4 separate regions of the Homo sapiens genome follow, and regions 2, 3 and 4 are each linked to region 1. The links are contacts of gene promoters, found by promoter capture Hi-C in human tissues and cell types (Jung and others, 2019). All regions are on one chromosome and are shown on one strand. Each heading gives the region's core, a stretch centred on a gene start or on the middle of the fragment in contact. The rest is flanking DNA. Distances are from core to core; before and after follow the strand shown.

The links. Contacts are between HindIII fragments. The study calls those that stand out against the background at their distance.
Region 2: a fragment that was not itself captured here is called in contact with the fragment with the promoter of NPR2 in region 1 in 1 of the 25 tissues and cell types used here (liver).
Region 3: a fragment that was not itself captured here is called in contact with the fragment with the promoter of NPR2 in region 1 in 5 of the 25 tissues and cell types used here (IMR-90 fibroblasts, aorta, mesenchymal stem cells and 2 more).
Region 4: the fragment with the promoter of CCDC107 here is called in contact with the fragment with the promoter of NPR2 in region 1 in 1 of the 25 tissues and cell types used here (thymus).

Annotation. Positions count from the first base shown.
Region 1 is chr9:35,789,367-35,792,840 of GRCh38, reverse strand. NPR2 (natriuretic peptide receptor 2) reads right to left here and starts at 1,250. Exons shown (of 22, transcript NM_003995.4): 1 at 1-1,250. The coding sequence starts at 432. It also overlaps a transcript of RGP1 not described here. The HindIII fragment of the contact is 19,498 bases long and covers 1-3,474 here.
Region 2 is chr9:35,620,623-35,624,096 of GRCh38, reverse strand. LOC124902148 (a long non-coding RNA gene) reads right to left here and starts at 3,176. Exons shown (of 2, transcript XR_007061470.1): 1 at 3,088-3,176; 2 at 2,116-2,439. It also overlaps a transcript of CD72 not described here. The HindIII fragment of the contact is 6,866 bases long and covers 1-3,474 here.
Region 3 is chr9:35,932,999-35,936,472 of GRCh38, reverse strand. No RefSeq gene overlaps it. Among named protein-coding and RNA genes, the nearest start is that of OR2S2, 23 kb to the left of the region's middle. The HindIII fragment of the contact is 7,970 bases long and covers 1-3,474 here.
Region 4 is chr9:35,656,653-35,660,126 of GRCh38, reverse strand. CCDC107 (coiled-coil domain containing 107) reads right to left here and starts at 1,835. Exons shown (of 5, transcript NM_174923.3): 1 at 1,642-1,835; 2 at 1,400-1,551. The coding sequence starts at 1,747. ARHGEF39 (Rho guanine nucleotide exchange factor 39) reads left to right here. Exons shown (of 9, transcript NM_032818.3): 9 at 1-784. It also overlaps RMRP. RefSeq lists a silencer at 1,713-1,972 and enhancers at 2,055-2,562, 2,563-3,071. The HindIII fragment of the contact is 10,595 bases long and covers 1-3,474 here.

The DNA of each region.
Region 1 (3,474 bases), core at 1-2,500:
GGGGCCAGTGCGAACCAGGGTACGATAATGGTCATTCTTAGCCGAAAAACCAGAGGCCACAGCACCCGCAGTCAGCAGGGGAAGGCGCCAGTGGGAGGCAAAGCGGGCCACAGAGGCAGCAGGGTACACGCAACCGGGACCTAACAGCAGGTCGGGGTCATGGTACAGCTTGAGGTCCACAGCGCTCAGCGGTGCCAGGTACTCAGAGCAGGCGCCTTCCAGTTCGGAGCTGACAAACCGCAGGTCCACGGGCAGTGCCCGGCCCAGAGCCTCCACAGCTAGTGCCACAGCGGGTCCCACCCGTGGCCAGGCCCAGGCATAGCTCAGGTTGTGTTCTGGCAGCACCACCGCCAGCGTCAGGTTCCGCGCCCCGGGAGGACGCACCCCACCTGCCAGGGCTGCCACCAACAGCAGAAGTGATGGCAGCGCCATGGGGATAAAGCAGCAGCCCCACCGCCCCCAGAACTTGGGGCTGCTCTGGCCTACAGGGGAGACGCGAGCACCCCCCAGCCTGGAGCCTGGGGAAGAGGGCCAGGAAGAGGAGGAGTAGGCTAGGTAGGCTGGGATGCAGAAGGTGCTGGGGGCCGGGGAGAGGAGGGGGAGATGGGAGGAAGGCGGGGGGCGGGCAAGGAGTGGGCTACCAGCCTAGGGCAAGGACTGAGGACTGAGAACGGGGTGGCAGGGGGAGGGAGGGACCGAGGGGGCCTGCGGCCAGGATGGGGACAGTGCGAGGTGAAGAAGCCTGATAAATCTAAAGCTGAGAAGGAAAAGGGGATCTGGGACTGGGATGGGGTGGGGGTGGGGGGCGGGTGGTACAAAGAAACGGCCTGGGGGAACCTCACAGCTGAAAGGGCCGGGAGGGCAGGAGGGCGCTGCGCCACATAGGACCAAGGGGGTAAGGTGGGAGGGTGCCCGCGCCGCGGAAGGACTGGGATCATGGGCAGGCGGGGAGCGAAGCGAGGCCTGGGCCGGAGGGCAGGGGAAGGCAGGGGTAAATCTCCCTGTGAAGGATTCTCCCGGAGCTCCTGCTTGGACTAACGGGCCCGGGCGCTGGTCCCATCCGGAGCTACGGCGGCCCCGCCCGTGTCCCCGCTCCTCTCTGCTCCGCTTCTCCTGGGCCCTGGCGGCCGGCGCTGCCCGGCGCTTCCTCCCGCCCCCCGCCTGGGCCCCGCGCGCGCCGCTCGTCCGGGTCAGGTCGCCTCGGCCCGGCCCGTCTCCGCTCGCTGCGCCGGCGGCCGAGTGCGACTCCCCCGGGCAGGCCGCCCGCCCCCGCCCCTCCCCCGCTGCCTCTCCTCCTCCCTCCCGGCCCCACCCTCCGGCGCCGGCTGCCTTCCCCCACCCCCCACCCGGGCGCTCGGGACCGCCAGGTCCCAAACCCACCCCGGTGAGCACTTGGGGGCTCCGCACCAAGGCCTCGCCGGCCAGCAGGGTTCCCGGGCGCTCCCTCACTCTCAGGGCCTACCCTGGTCTCCCCCACGCCCCTGGTCCCCCTGCCGCCCCTCCTTCCATTTCCATCTCACACACGCCAGCGACCCCAGGGTTTGTCCTCTCCCCCTCGCTCAGCCCGTTCTTCTTGGGTCTCCCCTCTGAACTCCCTGAGTCCCTCAGTGGTTCCAGTCTCCAGGAAGCAGTCGAGGATCCCCAGACGTGTGGTATCCTCACCAGCCCCCTCACCTAGCAAACCATAGCGCCCTCCCGACGGCAGTGCGGCTTACTCCACCGCGGACCATGCCCGCTCCCTGGACGGGCCCCTCCAGCAGCCAGGGGCCCCTGCTGTACACTTCCCACCAGTCCTTAGAAAGTCCACGAGGCTCCTTCTTGCTTGGGACTCAACTCTCGGCCCCCCGCTGTCTCCATGCCCCCTGCCCTCCTCGTGTCCTCAGAGGCCCACCGCAGCCCGCCCGGCTTCCTCCGCACCATCTGCTCAGTCAGGGCCTCGATTTTCTTTTGTCTCCTGCACAGCGCAGGCTGGCGCCTGGGGAAAGCCTGTAACGGACCGGCGGGACACTCCCCGCAGTGGAAGCCCATCCACGCTCTCCTGGGGTTCCACCTTGCTCCCAGCTTCCCTTAGGAAGCTCTCCCTAGGGCCCTCATATCTGGAGTGCCAATCTGACCCCAAGAACAGCTTGTGAGGGATGATCTCATGGTGGCTGAGAGGGACTGCTATGGGACCTTGGGGATTTTTCTCCAACTGTCATAAAGGACATGCACATAAGCCCATTCTCTGCCCGCGCTAAGAGCCACGGTTTCTCTCCCCCCTTCAAGCTATTTCTCCAGAAATCACAAGCTAAGAGCGCTCCTGGAGCCCTGGAGTGGGGTGGGAGTGTATAGGGCGAGGACGGGCATGGTTTCCCTGAGATGAAGGCGACACCTAGTGGTTTGGTGGGGGAAATTAAGGACAATGCCACTTTATCCTTAGGCACGATATTTATTGAACACCGGCTGCCTAGCACAAGCTGTACCTGTGAATACAAAGAAAGCCGAATGATACAGCCCTTACCTTTGAGGAACATGCATTTGCAATCCCTGGGGCACAGAGGCCAAGAGCAGGCCGTCCCTAACAATGTTCTTGCCTCAAGCCCAGTAGAGATGGAAGCCTCAGGACAGCTCCTTCTTTAACGCAGAGGGGTTGGTAACTCTAGTTCCAGGCTCCCAATACTGCAGTGAAAAGGAATTTTGTCCTATCTGGCCAAGGCAAAAAAAAAAAAAAGGAACAGTCAAAAGAATGACGAGACAACATGAGAAATACTTTAGACCAAGTCAACCAAATAGAATAGTTGATTTTTAAGCAACTACACATTGTTTTATGAGACAAGCAAATCCAAAATGACAAAATTCCTGAAAGAATTACAGAATGGCAGGGCTAAGAGGATCATATAAATATATTGTTTAGCCCTCTCATTTAAAGATAATTGAAAACCAAATCCCAGAGAGGAAGGTCGCAGTGTCCTTACTTGCTCCTCTCCCCCAATCCCACATGGCTTTTTAGTTGCAAAAGAGAGATTAAAATGCAGGTTTCATGGTCTCCAAGGAGAGGCTCTTTATAGATATTTTGCTGACTCATGGAACTTACTGTAGAAAGCTGTGCTTACAATATAATAGCCACCAAACCCAGGCAAGTCTCTCTGGAACACCTGCAGCCCTCAGTGAGGATCAGCCACCACTGTCACCCAGACTCCTACGCAAGTACAAGTGCATCATATGTCATTATTCTGAACATTAAGGACTATTCTTCATTATGTTAGGGATTAAACATTCAAGCATCTTGCCTTTCCCTTTTCCTCCCAGTTGGCCAGTTAACTAGAAAGTAGGAAGGGGCCAGGCACGGTGGCTCTTGCCTGTAATGCCTATAATCTCTATTAAAAACCAAACAAATCAATCAGATATGGTGGCACGAACCTGTGGTCCCAGCTACTTGGGAGGCTGAGGTGGGGGGATCGCTTGATCCCAGAGGATAGAGGCAGCCTGGGTGAC
Region 2 (3,474 bases), core at 269-2,768, 170 kb after region 1:
GGGATTACAGGCATGTGCCACCACGCCCAGCTAATTTTTGTATTTTTAGTAGAGATGGGGTTTCATCGTGTTGGTCAGGCTGGTCGTGATCCACCGACTTCAGCCTCCCAAAGTGCTGGGATTACAGGCGTGAGCCACTGGGCCTGGCCTTTATAAATTTGTCTTTTTAACCCATTTTTTTCTGAGACGGAGTCTTGCTCTGTCACCCAGGCTGGAGTGCAGTGGTGGAATCTCGGCTCACTGCAAGCTCCGCCTCCTGGGTTCAAGCTATTCTCTTGCCTCAGCCTCCTGAGTAGCTGGGATTACGCATGTACCACTATGCCCAGCTAATTTTGTATTTTTAGTAGAGACGGGGTTTCGCCATGTTGGCCAGGCTGGTCTTGAACTCCTGACCTCAGGTGATCCGCCTGCCTCGGCCTCCCAAAGAGCTGGGATTATAGGTGTGAGCCACTGCGCCAGGCCTCGCTTGCTAATTTTAATCAGCTGAGGTCAAAGGGGTTGGAGGTCACAAGACACAATTTCTGGGGACTAGGGCTGCCTCATCAGCAGGGGTTTGCCTGCTTAAAAAGGGCTATAGGTAGTATTTAAGTATGGGATAAAAAACACAAAGTAAAAAACAAAACAAAAAAAAAGGGCTATAGGTGTGGCTGGCACAATGTTAGATGTATTTGGTAAGGGGGCTACAGTTCTATGTGGCAGCCTTTTGTCACAAGCTTCTTTCCAGTCACTGGGTCAGTTTATAAGGCGCTTACAGCCTGCTGAGTCCAGTTTCCCAATTTGTAAAATAAGCAGGCTGGGCTCTCTAAGATCCCTTCAAGTGTAAAATAATAACTGCCTTTCTCCTCAAACTTTGTTACATAAACAATTGTTAACCCAGGACTCCCTCCATCCTATGCTTATGCAATTTATTTTTTGAATTCCAAATTTCATTTTTCAATAAATGCTTGCTGTATTATCTTTTTTTTATTTTAATTTTGATTCATTTATTTTTTGAGGGAGGGTTTCACTGCTGCCCAGGCCAGAGTGCAGTGGCACAAACATGGCTGACAGCAGCCTCGCCCTCCTGGGCTCAAACAATCCTCCCCACTCAGCCTCCCAAGAAGCTGAGACCATAAGCATGTGCCATCACACCTGCCTAATTTTTAAATTTTTTGTAGAGATGGAGTCTCGCTGTGTTGGCCAGTCTGGTCTCGAATTCCTAGGCCCAAGTGATCCTCCCACCTCAGCTTCCCAAAGTCTTGGGATTATAGGCATGAGCCATTGTGCCTGACTTTGCTGTTATTATTATTATTATTATTATTATTTTTTTTGAGACAGAGTCTCGCTCTGTCACCCAGGCTGGAGTGCAGTGGCACCACCTTGGCTCACTGCAACCTCTGCCTCCCGGGTTTAAGCGATTCTTTTGCTTCAGCCTCCTGGGTAGCTGGGACTACAGGTGTGCGCCGCCATGCCCGGCTAATTTTTGTATTATTAGTAGAGACGGGGTTTCACCATATTGGCCAGGCTGGTCTCGAAATTCTGACCTTGTGATCTGTGCACCTTGGCTTCCCAAGGGATAACAGGCGTGAGCCATCGTGCCTGGCCTGCTGTTATTATTTTTATGACATTTCATTCTGTGGTTTGGAGCCATCATTTTGCCTTGTTGCAAGGCTTGAATCTTGAGTTGGCCTTTTGATGTATTTGCTTTTCAGCTCTGTGCCATTAAGCACAGAGAACGTGCTTTCTGTGTCACCATTTGAGGCAGGACCAAGGAGAGGCCTGGGGCAAGTCACCGAAGACCTATCTGTACTCTTTGGCTTCAGTGATCAAAGAAATCCAAGTCTCCCTCATGGTGCAATCAGGTGGCCCATTTTTCTCCCTCCTGACTCTGAAGCCTTTGTGACAGATTTTAAAGAGGCGTTTGTAAAGTCCACACCTAGTGTGTCTCCAGCAATCATACTCTTGATTGAGGTCAGACTATCTTGTATTTTACAGATGGAAAACTGTCACTTGCCCAAAGTCACATACTGTGGCAAGGCTGGTCTCTTTAACCAGAGTCTCCCTATTCTTTCTATTACATCATGCTTCCTCCACAGTTCACGAAACTCTTGCTGCTCTAATAAATTACACACTTGGTGGCTTAAACAATACAAATTTATTGTCTTACAGTTGTGGAGATCAGGTCGACACAGGTCTCACTGGGCTAAAGTCAAGGTGTCTGCAGGGCTGGTTCCTTTCTGGATGCTGAAGGGGAAAATCTGCTTCCTTGCCTTTTCCAGCTCTCAGAGGCTTCTTGCATTCCTTGGCTCAAGGTCCTCTTCCTGCACCTTCAAAATCAGGACCTATGGGTTGAGTGTTTCTCCTGTGGCGTCTCTCTGGCCCTCCTTCCCTCACCGAATCTCTTTCTTCCCATGATGGGAAAGGTTCTCCCTTTCAAGGACTCATGTGATCAGAGTGTGCCTACCAAGATAAAACAGGATAATCTCTCTATCTAAAGGACCTTGATTAACATAGCCACATCTACATTTTGTCAGGTAAAGTGACATAGTCACAGGTTCTGGGGATTCGGGTGTGAACATTTTTGGGAGGCCATTATTCTGGCTACCACACCCTGTCAGTAAACTAGGGCTTCCCGGAGGCCAGTGGGTTAAAGTAATGAAGACAGATATAGCCTGACTTTCAGAGTCTTAGGAGATGCTCCCGATGTCCTGACATAGACTGTATCAATGACACAAAGTTGATCAGGTGAGCCCCCTTCCACATGGCAAATTCTATCTGATGCCCTCATGGTTGGGCCCCCTCCTCTTGTCAACCGTAAACACCCATTCCCTGTAATGAGTAGTGGGGAGGCCAGGAGAGGGCAAAACATGGGTGTTAGTGTCTGCCCTCCAGGCTCTCAGATGATGATAGTATGGTTCTGGAAAAGCTGAAATGTACAGCACTGACCCCTCACCTCTTAAAAGTTCCCTGATATTTGGGCAGTAGAGGTACAGCTTGGAGTTACAGGTATCTTTTCTGATGTCCAGCCTCTAAATGTAATGTGAATGTCAAAACTGTAAAGACCCCAAGTGACACACGTGGGGAAGGGGAAGGATCCTACTCTCTTACCCTGTTCACAAAGGAAGGCTACAAGCTGGTCTAAGACAGAAGCGAATGCGGCCTGTGATGAAAAGATATGTAACCATCACCAAAAGAGCTAAAGAGGAGAAAAATATAGAACAAGCCTGGTTAAGACATTCAAGATATTGCGGTGTGCAGTTCCATCTGGGGATCCCCTTCTTTTTTTTATTTTTTTTTATTTTTGGAGACAGAGTCTCACTCTGTGGCCCAGGATGGGCACAATCTCGGCTCACTGCAACCTCTGCCTCCCGGGTTCAAGCAATTCTCAGCCTCCCTAGTAGCTGGAATTACAGGCACATGCCACCATTCTCAGCTAATTTTGTATTTTTAATACAGATGGGATTTCACCATGTTTGCCAGGCTAGTCTCAAATTC
Region 3 (3,474 bases), core at 359-2,858, 140 kb before region 1:
TATTCATTCCATTTAAGGCCCATTTGGTCTCCTGGAAAGCTGGCCACAAATAGCTTTCAATAACACCTCTGGGCATACACCAAAGAAGTAAATCTGACTCTAAGTAAAATCTTGTAGCTTGCCAATATTTTCACCAGTTAGGAATTATAGGAATTCAGCCATAGAATTTGAACATAAATTGAAGTCTCCTTTTAGCCATTTTTTGTTTTTAGTAGAGACCAAGATCCCATTCATTGCCAAACGTTTTCATAGGCATGAATGCTTGTGTTTGATCCAGGAATAATAAATGATTGACTGTTACCCAGCAGCAGGGTGGGGTGGGATTCCTGGCACTTTTTTTTTTTTTAAGCAAAGGAAAAACAACTGAGCAGACATTTGCTCTTTCAACAGCGTTTTGTGAAAATGTAAATTAAAGAGACTAGTCTTTTTAAAATTATTTCCATAATCACAAATACGACTGTGGAAAGTCAAGACAATGCTGTTTTAAGTCAATATAAGTTATCTGACCTAGACGTCGCCATTAGGACTGTCAACTAACAAGGCATCTGTAGTTTGCTAACTTTTTTATCTTAATGAATTCTGAATTCAAATGTTTTCTTTTTAAATATAAATATTTGCTTTCGCTAAAGGTAAGTTGAAATTCTTGAGTGTTGACTTGAGTACGTACAGAAAAGATCAGTTTCACTGCCAGTAGCTGGGAAATCCATGGTTGGAATTCAAAAACAGCCAATGTATTATACATCATTACATTTCATTGTACACATTCCTATAATATAGAATAAAATTTAAAATTATTTTTGAATAAAACCTTGATTATAGGAATCACAAGAGAAAAGTTTGCCTCATTTAAGAAGTGCTCTAAACTAATAGCTCTCAAACATTTTGCCCTGCAGGTTAGCAAAAATGAAAAGACTAATCAGACCTAATATTGCTAAGTGTAGAAGAAAATAAGTAGAGTCATGCGTTGTTTAGACTGAGATGCATTCTGAGAAATGCGTCATTAGACGATTTCATCATTGTGGGAACATCACAGACTGGACTTGCACGAACCTAGCCTAATATATACCTAAGCTATATGGCATGGCCTATGGCTGCTAAGCTAGAAACCTGTCCAGTGTGTTACTGTACTGGACACTGTAGGCAATTGTAACACAATGGTAAGTATTTGTGTATCTAAACATAGAAAAGGTACAGTAAAAATATGGAATCATAAACTATGGACCATTGTCATATATGCAGACCACACATCATTGACCAAAACATACATACTGACCAAAATATCATTGTGCAGTGCATGACTATACACTTATACTTGGTGCTAATGTAAACTGGGCCAATTTTTAAAATATAATGCTATAATGTTAGATAGATATATAAGAAAAGTAGACTGAATAAGGAAAACTCAATCATATCCCAAGAAAGAAAACTAAGAGCCTAAAGGCCAAATAGTCCTCGGTTTTACAAGTTGAATCACCATGCATTTAATATTTTTTTAAATTTTTTATTATTTATTTATGTATTTATTTGTTTGTTTGTTTGTTTGTTTTCAGATAGAGTCTCACTCTGTCTCTCAAGCTGGAGTGCAATGGCGCGATCTCAGCTCACTGCAACCTCTGCCACGCAGGTTCAAGTGATTCTCCTGCCTCAGCCTCCCAGGTGGCTGGGATTACAGGCACTCGCCATCACGCCTGGCTAATTTTTTGTATTTTTGTAGAGATGAGGTTTCACCATGTTGGTCAGGCTGGTCTTGAACTCCTGACTTCAGGTGATCTGCCTGCCTCGGCCTCCCAAAGTGCTGGGATTACAGGCATAAGTCACCGTGCCTGGCTACCATGCATTTAATATGAACTTGCCAGATTCAGCAAATAAGAATACAGGTTGCTCAAATTTAATTTCAATTTCAGATAAACAATACTTTTTTTTTTGAGGCGGAATCTCGCTCTGTCACCCAGGCTGGAGTGCGGTGGCACGATCTTGGCTCACTGCAACCTCTGCTTCCCAGGTTCAAGTGATTCTCCTGCCTCAGCCTCCCGAGTACCTGGGACTACAGGCGCCCACCACCATGCCCAGCTAATTTTTGTAATTTTAGTAGAGACGGGGTTTCACCATATTGGCCAGGCTGATCTCAAATTCCTGACCTTGTAATCCACCCACCTCGGCCTCCCAAAGTGCTAGGATTACAAGAGTGAGCCACCGCTCCCGGCCAAACAATACTTTTTTTAGTATAAGCATGTCTATATACTTTGTGTCATAGCTATAGTTTAAAAAGTATTCATTGTTTATCTGAAATTCAGATTTTACTAAGCATCCTGTGTTTTATCTGGCAACTCTAATTTAACATAAAACAATAATGATTACAAGATAGGAAAGTTTTATCTTAGATTGTTGGTAAAATTCCTGCCCCAAATCTCTTCTTTCACATCCTTTACCCAGGGTATGATTTTCCAACTGTTGTCCTAGAAATTCCCTGGCTAATCTTGTTATTTTATCCTTATCCTTAGATCCATCTTACAATGTCCTCCAGTATCTCTTACTCATTTTTTTTCTTTCTTTTTCAGTCATAATTCTTTTCATTTTCAAGTTGCTGTTAATAGTTCCACGTACATTCAAGAGACAATCCTCTTACCCATCTCAAAACTAGGCATTACTCAATTTTCCTGGAGGAGGGTAAGAAGAAGCCAAATCCAGAACAGAGAGTACAAATAATTAACAGGCTTAATCTTTGGAGTGTCTCAACTGCAAAGGAGTAATTGTTTTCCTACCTACTCTTGTTGCTTTTACAGGTGAGCAGACAGGCTGGAACAGACAGGCAAGGAAAAGACTGTTGAAAAGATTGTTCCAAGAACATGAAATTTAACTGCAGTCCGATTTGTACAAATTCCATTTATCTTGGTTTCGAACTACCCCTCTCTACCACTCGGATCTTTGGAAGCTTAAATGGCTAGTTACAATTAAAAAAAAAATACAATCAAATGAAAAAACTCTACAGGAATTTAGACACTGACTTGAGAGTTAATTACACTACAGACTTATTGTGAAATGTTTGGGGGCCTAAGAATGGTATTGTGGTTATGTTTTTAATAAGAGCCTTTATCTTTTAGATACATCCTGAAATATTTGCAAATTAAACAATACTCCTGGAATTAGCTTGATAAGGTAGGGGATGAGTGGATGGAAGTACAGATAAAGCGAGTTTGTTGAAGCTGGAGAACAGGTACCCGGGAGCCCATTATACTATTCTCTGTGTTTTTATGTGTCTTTGAGATTTTAAGAATTTTACTTTAAGAATAATAAGAATTCTTAAAGTAAAAATTATTATATGCATACGATGCAATGTTATTCAGCCTTGAAAGGTAGAAAATTCTGACACATGCTACAACATGGACGAACCTTGAGGACTTTATGCTAAGCGAAATAAGCCAGTCACAAAACAGCAAATACTGTATGATTCCACTTATATGAGGTACCTAGAGT
Region 4 (3,474 bases), core at 586-3,085, 130 kb after region 1:
ACACCTGTAATCCCAGCACTTCGGGAAGCCAAGGTGGGTGGATCACCTGAGGTCAGGAGTTTGAGACCAGCCTGGCCAACACGGTGAAACCCTGTCTCTATTAAAAATACAAAAATTAGCCGGGCGTGGTGGCAGGTGCCTGTAATCCCAGTTACTTGAGAGGCTGAGGCAGGAGAATCGCTTGAACCTGGGAGCCAGAGGTTGCAGTGAGCCGAGATTGCGCCGCTGCACTCCAGCCTGGGTGACAGAGCGAGACTCCATCTCGAAAAAAACAAAAACTTTGGTTGTTAGACAGTTCATGCACAAAGCCAAAATTTGTCCTTTATGTATCTTCTTTCCATAGTGCTTACTGGAGCCTTCCAAAATAATGTCTCCTCAAGGTGACAGCCCCTCAGGAATTTGAAGGCAATGGTCACACCCTCACCCACTTTCCTGAGTTTTTTCTGGTTTATTAACGTCAGTCTTTACAGTCAGTGCTCATTGACGGTGGTTTTCTCTGGTTGTTTCCTGAACACGTAGTGCTCTTAAAGCAATGCCCTGAGGAGAATACAATTCTCCAGGGGCATTCTGATTGGCAGGTGAAGCACAGTGCCATGTTCCCAGCACTGATTTGGGAAGTGGCTTGTCACATCCCACAGTGAACTCAGTCAACTGGAATGCCTAACTCTCTTTCATAAGACCTCCTGCTACATTATGTTTCTCCCAGACTGTACTCAGGTCCAAGAACAGAATTTACTAGTCTATCCTTCTCAAAGTTCATCATTAAATTCAGTCATTCATCCTAGCCTGTCACATCTACCTGGGGTCATTATTAGCTATCTCTTCTAGTTTCATATATCTAAACTGGTTCCATCGGTTCTATTTTATAATGCAAGTACGTAATAGGGTCACGGCTAAAGACACAGCCCTGGAAGGTACTGTTTTTCAAAATGTACTGTCAACTTACATTTCAGGGCCTCCTCCCAAGGAGAACATGAGACCACTTCATATCTGGAACTCTAGAAACACTGGCTGCAGCAATCAACCTCCTGTGCCAAGGCTGGCCCCACTCTTGTAGCATGGACACTGCTAGCTGGGTTCAAATCCCAGCTCCAGCAGTTGCCAGCGCTGGGTGACCTCGAGCAAGTGACTACTCCTCACTGGATTGTAGGAGAACTAAATGTGATAGTCATTATTTACAGTTCACCACACGCTCTTCACATCCGTTACCTCCCTGGATCCTCAAAATAACCTCATAATATTGGAAGGCCAACGGACTACTGTCTTTATTTTACAGACAGGGAAGCTGTGTCTTGTTCTTGGTACCCTGGCACCCCCATGGGAGATTCGGGCTCAGGGGATCCCCACGCCCGGCGGTCCCGCACCTGCAGGGGCACCCCTACCCCCGGCCGCCCCGTACCTGCAAACACTTGTACAGCACAAAAGCCGCGACGGCCGCGGTGTACAGCGCCCCCAGAGGCAGCGACCCGGCCCGGGTCCGCTCGCGTTGATCCTTGAGCGGTGGTCGCCGCCGGGGTTCCGTGGCTCCAGAGCCGGGGTGGGCTGCGTTCCCTGCGGAGGGAGGATACAGGCGAGTCAGCCGAGCTGGGGCCTGGGACCCGTGCGCAGTCCCAGCCCTCCTCCAGCAGCCCTAGCTGGTACCTGGGTGTGCCCGGAGGTCGGGATTGGCGCGGTCTCCTAGGACCCCGGACAGCGCAGACACAAGCAGCAGCCCCACCACACCCAAGAGCGAAACTGCGCCCGCCATTGCCGGCCCACGGGTGGAGGGATCGGGCGGGCGGTGCCGAAGCGGTCCGGCATTGGCCGGCCGCCCCAACGCGCACGCGCACGCGAGCAGGCCGGCCGGCTCCGGGGAGGCCACGCCCACTCCCCGTAGGGCGGGGCCAGACCATATTTGCATAAGATAGTGTCATTCTAGCTTTCCTGTATTTGTTCATTTCGTGTCTATTAGCTATTCTGCTAGCCACAATGCCTCTGAAAGCCTATAGTCTTAGAAAGTTATGCCCGAAAACGGTTTTTTTAATCTCACGCCACCAACTTTCTCACCCTAATCATAAAACACAATTTCTTTAGGGCTATAAAATACTACTCTGTGAAGCTGAGGACGTGGTTCGTGCTGAAGGCCTGTATCCTAGGCTACACACTGAGGACTCTGTTCCTCCCCTTTCCGCCTAGGGGAAAGTCCCCGGACCTCGGGCAGAGAGTGCCACGTGCATACGCACGTAGACATTCCCCGCTTCCCACTCCAAAGTCCGCCAAGAAGCGTATCCCGCTGAGCGGCGTGGCGCGGGGGCGTCATCCGTCAGCTCCCTCTAGTTACGCAGGCAGTGCGTGTCCGCGCACCAACCACACGGGGCTCATTCTCAGCGCGGCTGTTTTTTGTTCCCGAGACCACGGCTCACTGCAGCCTCGACCTCCCCGGGCTCACGCGATGCCTCACCTCAGGCTCCCAAGTAGTTGGGACCGCAGGCGCACGCCATCATGCCTGGCTAATTTTTGTATTTTTTGTAGAGACGGATTTTCACCTGTTGCCCAGGCTGGTCTCGAACGCCTGGTGTCAAGCGATCAGTCCACCTCGCCCTCCCAAAGTGCTGGGATTACAGGCGTGACACCGCGCCCGGTCAACGCGGCTGCTTTTCATGCGCGGGCAGCTTTACGCTGTTCTTGGCCTTGCTATGAAGTCCTTGTGCTCATTACTCCAAATATGGAGCATTCCTGAAACAGCCTCCTCTTCTACCTCCCTCTCCCTTTGGCAAACGCCATAGTAGCCACCATTCACTGTGTAGCTGGTACACAACATATGGACTCTGCTTGGGCTAGAATCCTGCCTCCTGTACTCAAGAGCGGTGACCTTGTGAAACTTAGTTCTCTCTCCGTGCCTTCCTTTCCACTCTGAGGAATGAAGATAAGCACTTACTTCAAGAGCTATGATGATTAAATGGGATCACTCAAGTTAGAACCGTGCCTACTTATTAGTGATTTTTTTTTTTTTGGAACGGCGGGTCGCTCTCTTGCCCAGGCTGGTCTTAAACTCCTGGGATCCTCCCGCTTCAGCCTCCCGGGTAGTTGACATTACAGGCACGTGCCACCCCGACGGACTCTAGTGATTTTTTAACTTGAGCAGCTACTACTGTAAGCCAGACAGTTGAAATTACACTGACTCTCCCTGACATGCCGCTGCATTCCCTTTCTGCATACTGGGTTCTACACGACCTTCAGTTCTCAGCTCAAGTGTGTTCCCATCATTCGGAACCCTTAATTCAACTTCTAATTTATTCTTTAGTGCCGCTATTTCACTTTCTTCAATACCACTAGACAAGCAGTCCCCAACCTTTTTGGCATCAGGGACCGGTTTCGTGGAAGACAATTTTTCCATGGACGAAGCGGGGTGGAGGGATGGTTTCCGGATGAAACTGTTCCACTTCAGATCGTCAAGCATTAGATTCTCACGAGGAGCGTGCAACCTAGATCCCT